Regions from separate parts of the Homo sapiens genome. Here region 1 is linked to region 2. The links are contacts of gene promoters, found by promoter capture Hi-C in blood cells and fetal thymus (Javierre and others, 2016). All regions are on one chromosome and are shown on one strand. The core of a region is centred on a gene start or on the middle of the fragment in contact, and the rest is flanking DNA. Distances in the headings are between cores, read along the strand shown. Region 1 has its middle 2.7 kb from the start of TNFRSF10B. Region 2 holds the start of SLC25A37 (solute carrier family 25 member 37).

Region 1 (2,789 bases), core at 26-2,525, 460 kb after region 2:
CCCAGCCAAAAAAAAAATACCCTTAAAGGGAGCTTAGCTTGCCTCCATGACCCTCAATGGTGGCTGTAATCAAACCACATCTTCCAGGCAAACAATACCACATCCTATGGCCTTGCAATGGCATGGCCTCCCTCCAGCACAGCCTCTCTGGAGGAGGGGGAGGCAAGGGTGGTGAGATCTCAGGCCTCCCTCATGCTACCTCCTATTAGTTATATGACCCCTGGTGTCACCTCTCCCACCACACTGTAGGCTCCAGGGAGTAGGATTCACATGGGGTTCATTTGTCCTCCCTGCCTTCAGCAGACTCCAGGCACAGGTGTTCCCAGAGTAAAGGGCTCACTGTCTGCTTCCTGGGTGAATCATTCTCCCCGCAAACCCATGAGGTGAGTGCAGTCGTGGCTTCAGCTCACCGCCTGACAGGCTCCAGGCTGTAGCACAGGGAGGGCCCTGTGGACTCTGCTGAGGAACCATACGAGCTCCCAGAGGCCAAGTGCAGGACAGAGAATAGAGAAGCAGCTGCTCAGAGAACTCTAGCCCTGTAGAGGTGCAAATATGGCTGCTATTATACAGAAGGTGAGGCCAAAAATGCTGGAGACACTGCTCCTGAATCTCAGTTTTGCCACTTGTAAAACAGGGAAAACAACCTACTCTCATGTCCCCAGGTTGTTAGGAAAATCCACTACATGAAGATGTGCAGTCTCTGGCTGGGAGCAGGACACCAGCTGCCCAACAGCACAGGCTCAGGGCATGGCACTGTCTCCACTGTCCCCATCCCCAACCTGGAAGCTAGAGCCTCGCTGCCCTGCCACTTCTGGATGCAGGACAGAGAACCGGAACTGGGACTGTGGTCTCTCAGTAGAGGCTGTGAACAGCCATCTGTGGCCACACGGATTGAGACCTTTCCTGCTCACTCTTCAAACTGGGGCACCGGCTGGGTGCCCAACAGAAAGACAATTGGAAGAGTGGCAGGTAAACCAGGCTGTGGCCCTGCAGTGCCATCACCGTCCTCATTTGAATTCTGGCTCGTCTGTTCCTCTACGGCCCCTCCGCATGGCGCTCCACCCCAGTCTTCAGAAATTTCTGCCTCAAGCTCAGGGAGCTGGTACTGAGGTACAGGTAGGAGAAGGTGCAGCCTCTGCTGAGTGGAGGACATGTGCCCTGGGGATCCAGAGTCTAGAGTGACTGACACCAGCCCTGCAATTTGTCCTCCTAGACCTGTTAACAGAGCCTGCAGAAGTTTACACAGGGCTGCTGAAGATTTTTATCCCCTCATTTTACAGGAAGGAGCTGGGGCCATACCAGAGTCAGAGCTGGACCGGGAGCACGGCAGGGCCCAGCCATCCACAGCCTCCAATTTCAGTACTCTCTAACAACCTGAGAGCCTGAGCCTTCGGATCTTCTTGATTCCTACTTTGATAAAGAGAGGGATGGGGTTGGAAGGACCTGGCATAGAGATTGGACCAGTCCGGCATTGACAGAGCCAGGACCTGGGGTCCGGAACTGAGCTCAGCTCCAGGCTCATCTGAAGTCACCCTGACAGCCTGAGGATGGAGACCTTATTTCCATTAACAGGCATGGCGGTTGGCAGGGACTGGCCCCAGCTGAGCACGGTTTTCCAAGTACACAGCTGGGAATTAAGTCTTCTCTGCCGCCCTCCCCTGTAGTCTTGCCTGGATCCCCCCAGTCATCTACTCCCAGTACCAAAAACTCCTGTATTCTTGAAAATCCGTAGTACTGAGAGGTGACAGCTTGCTGGCAGTCCTCAACAGCCCTCGCTCGCTCTCGGCGCCTCCTCTGCCTGGGCTCCCACTTTGGCGGCACTTGAGGAGCCCTTCAGCCCACCGCTGCACTGTGGGAGCCCTTTTCTGGGCTGGCCAAGGCTGGAGCCCGCTCCCTCAGCTTGCACGGAGGTGTGGAGGGAGAGGCGCGAGCGGGAACCGGGGCTGCGCGCGCGGCACTTGCGGGCCAGCTGGAGTTCCGGGTGGGCGTGGGCTCGGCGGGCCCTGCACTCGGAGCAGCCGGCCGGCCCTGCCGGCCCCGGGCAATGAGGGGTTTAGCACCCGGGCCAGCGGCTGCGGAGGGTGTACTGGGTCCCCCAGCAGTGCCGGCCCACTGGCGCTGCGCTTGATTTCTCGCCGGGCCTTAGCTGCCTTCCCGACGGGCAGGGCTCGGGACCGCCATGCCTGAGCCTCTCACCCCCTCCGTGGGCTCCTGTGCAGCCGGAGCCTCCCCGACGAGCACCTCCCCCTGCTCCAGGGCGCCCAGTCCCATCGACCACCCAAGGGCTGAGGAGTGCGGGCGCACGGCGCGGGAGCACGGCGCGGGACTGGCAGGCAGCTCCACCTGCAACCCCGGTGCGGGATCCACTGGGTGACGACACCTGGGCTCCTGAGTCTGGTGGGGACGTGGAGAACCTTTATGTTTAGCTAAGGGATTGTAAATACACCAATTGGCACTGTGTATCTAGCTCAAGTTTTGTAAACACACCAATCAGCACCGTGTGTCTAGCTCAGGGTTTGTGAATGCACCAATTGACACTCTGTATCTAGCTAGTCTGGTGGGGCCTTGGAGAACCTTTGTGTCCACACTCTGTATCTAGCTAATCTGGTGGGGAAGTGGAGAACATTTGTGTCTAGCTCAGGGATTGTAAACCACCAATCAGCGCCCTGTCAAAACAGACCACTCCGCTCTACCAATCAGCAGGGTGTGGGTGGGGCCAGATAAGAGAATAAAAGCAGGCTGCCAGAGCCAGCAGTGGTAACACTGTGGAAGCTTCCTTCTTTCCCTCT
Region 2 (3,000 bases), core at 234-2,733:
GAGCCGGGAAAACCCTCTGAGTTATACTTTCTGGCCTTCATACCTGCTCATGCAGGACCAGCATCAGCAACAAGATAAAGCTGCTGGGGGTGCCTCTGTGGGACCTGCCTTGCAAAATAATTGCCACCTAGAGAGGCCTCCGAATCCTCCAAAGCACACTGCAGCTGCAGCCAGAGGATAGGAGGTGGTGTAGGAGCCTGGGCAAGGTAATCGGTTCGCCTCTCTGCGCCTCAGTTTCTTCATCTGTTAACCCCCAGGGCTGTTGCATGAATTAGGCGAGTTATGCCTATAAAAGTGCAACGTGTAACAGTCAATACTGGCATTACTTCCTGCACTACTCTATCCTGGCCCTGGGGTGTTCTGGGCAGGCTGACAGAGGGCAGGTCTCAGTCTACCAGGCAAAACGCACCTAGTAACGCTGCCTCTTTACAGAAATGCAGTTAAAACTACCGGGGCAAGTGACAGACAGGGTTTAAAGGAAACTGAGTGCCTCTCACACAATCCACAGCAAGGGCTGTAAGGCACAAGCCCACCCACCTCCCCGCAAGCAAAAGGAGAAGGCAAACGTCATTGCCTCCCGGCGGCTCGGCGACCCAAAGTCGGGGGAAGAAGTGCAGGAACCCTCAGAAAGGGGATCCCACGGGCCGCTGTCGAACCGGTAAAGAGCTGCCACTAGTCGAGAGAAGACTTGCCGGCCCCAAGTTCCCGAAATAACCCGGGGAGCAGCAGCCACACACCAAGTCCCGAGGGCGCGCGGCCGGGCCAGGGCCACACGTTTCTCAGCTCCAGCGTGGTGAGGGCTTCCCCTGCGGGGAGCTCCCTCGGAAACCGCGCACGTGTGGGCGGCCCCAGCCAGCCCGAACGGCCAGCGTGGTAAGACTGTGCAGAGCTTCAGCGATCGCGTCCCCCGGGAGCCCAGTCGCCGCCGAAGCCAGCGGTGCTCGCCACTCCGCCTCCCCCGCCTCAGCGCCGCCAGCAGCCGGGGCCGGGCACGCGGCTGGAGCAGCGGGCGGTGCGGGGCGAGGACCGGGCACCCTCGCGGGGTCGGCGGAAGGCGCGGCGCCCAGGCTGCGCGCAGCTGCTCCTGGGGCGACCCCGGCCAGCCGCGGTCCTGGGGAGAGCTCGGTTTCGGGACGCTGCCCCGAGGCTGCCGGCGCGCGGGATGCAAATGCGCGCGCGCGCTCCTTCTCCGCTCGTTGCGTCCCCGAAGTCTCCCCGCGCCTCACCTTCACCGAGTCCACCGGGTACATGACCGAGTGCTCCAGGATCCCGGCCATCGCTCCTGCTGTCATGTGGGTGGACACGGAGGCGCTAGTCGGCAGGTTCTCGTAGTCCTCCGACCCGGTGGCGTCCTTGCCGCCGCCGCCATCTCGGCTGTCCCCATCCATCCTCCGCGCCACCGCCTGGCTGCCCACGCTCCCGCTGCGCAGCTCCATCCGCCAGCTCGGCGGGGCGCAGGAGGCTGCAGGAGGTGGGCAGGGAGGGGGAGGGGCGCAAAACTTCACTTCTTAAAGTGGGAGCCACCTCCCCGGGGCCGCGGCGCCTGACGCCATGGCGGGCTGGGGTGGAGCGCAGCGGCCAGAGACACCAATCGCCGGGAACCAAGAGGCCGGCGGCCGCCGCGCCATTGGTGTGCGGGACAGTGGGGACCCGCCTCCCTGTGTGACGTCACCGTCCCGTGCACATTTCCAAGCAACCGGACGGGGGCGAGAGGAGACGTGGGGTGGCCCGGAAAGTTGTACTATCTTGAGGATGGGCTGGTCCGCGAGGGGCAGGGGAGGTCATTGGGGAGGGGCCGCAGTGGGGTATGCCCAGAGCTGGAGGCATGGGTGACAGTGTCTCGGGGAAAATCCGTCCCCGTGGCGGGTGGGTTTGCAAACAGAATCGCTCAGTGAGCTTTGGCATTCCTAAGGCCTGAATTCAAACCTCAGGGGCCCGTTCTAGACTGCTTTGTTGGAGAGACCCCCATTCATTCGAAATTGTTTCTCTCAACCTAAATACATAATGCAGAGCTAAATGTGTTCCTCTTGTTCTCACCGAGAGACCGAACCCACCCTGCCCTGGACCGAGCAAGGCTATAAGGAGTGACCAGGAGGGAGCCCCTCTGAGTAGGCACCTCCAGGAAATTTTCTTTGGGTTTGATAGGCCCATAAGGTCTGTAGAGGCCTGATCTCACAGTTAGGAGTGTGAACTGGCTGAGAGTAAAATCTTACAGCCTTGCCCCTGCCTGTCTTAAGACTGTGGTCACCTAGTTCTTAAAGTCGTCCTAAGCTGGCCTCTTCAATAAAGTGTAACCCAGGCTGTTTTAATATTGTTTTGCTCCAGTCTGGGGAAAAAGGGAGAAATCAGAAAGTAGGGGAGGGACCTGTCTGCCTCTGGAAGTGTCCGTCTAAATTGCGTGTTCCAGGGCTTAAGATGACTTGGGCTGATCAACTTGTAGGCACCAGGGCCTCCCTGCCTTATCTAGACAAGGCTTCTCGTCAGGAAAGCTGGATCCTGAGATATGAAAGGGTGGGGAAGACCCTGAAGAGGCTGAGCCTACTCTCTGCCCTCACCGTGATCAGCATCCCAAGCAGCTCTTAGGGATTTGAGATACAGTAATGTGAGCATGGGTAGAGGTCAATAGAGGCGTCAGGACCAAGAGCACTGTTTGCCTAGTTTTGGTAGCTGCAGATAGTAGCTGGCAAGCTGAGTGCTAAGGATGTGATAAGTAAAAACAGGCTCTGTGTTTTTACTTAGCCATCTCTGTAATGGCTAGAGAAAACTCTACTTTTGTCAAAGGTCGTTTTTAAGAAATACTGATCAGAAGCTGTTGATCCTTATTTTTAAGTGGATGCCCTTTAAGCATTAAGTCTGTAAGAACCCACTGCCCCACTTCTGGGAATGTAACAAAAACCCAAATACACAGGAAGCTCTTCTTCAAAGCATTCCTTAGAGCAGTAAATCATTGGAAACAACCTAAATGGTCAACCAGAAGGGAATGGCTAAGGAAATTATGAT

What was found. The method cuts DNA at HindIII sites, captures the fragments that hold promoters and counts their contacts. A CHiCAGO score of 5 or more calls a contact.
Region 1: a contact is called between a fragment that was not itself captured here and the fragment with the promoter of SLC25A37 in region 2, in 1 of 17 cell types (neutrophils). The highest score is 5.2, in neutrophils.

The regions. Positions count from the first base shown.
Region 1 is chr8:23,070,299-23,073,087 of GRCh38, reverse strand. It overlaps the pseudogene TNFRSF10B-AS1. Among named protein-coding and RNA genes, the nearest start is that of TNFRSF10B, 2.7 kb to the right of the region's middle. RefSeq lists enhancers at 1,737-2,236, 2,558-2,789. The HindIII fragment of the contact is 2,999 bases long and covers 1-2,774 here.
Region 2 is chr8:23,527,439-23,530,438 of GRCh38, reverse strand. It overlaps SLC25A37 (solute carrier family 25 member 37), which reads right to left and starts at 1,483. Exons shown (of 4, transcript NM_016612.4): 1 at 1,227-1,483. The coding sequence starts at 1,436. RefSeq lists enhancers at 380-449, 1,740-1,789 and silencers at 950-1,199, 1,250-1,609. The HindIII fragment of the contact is 6,335 bases long and covers 1-3,000 here.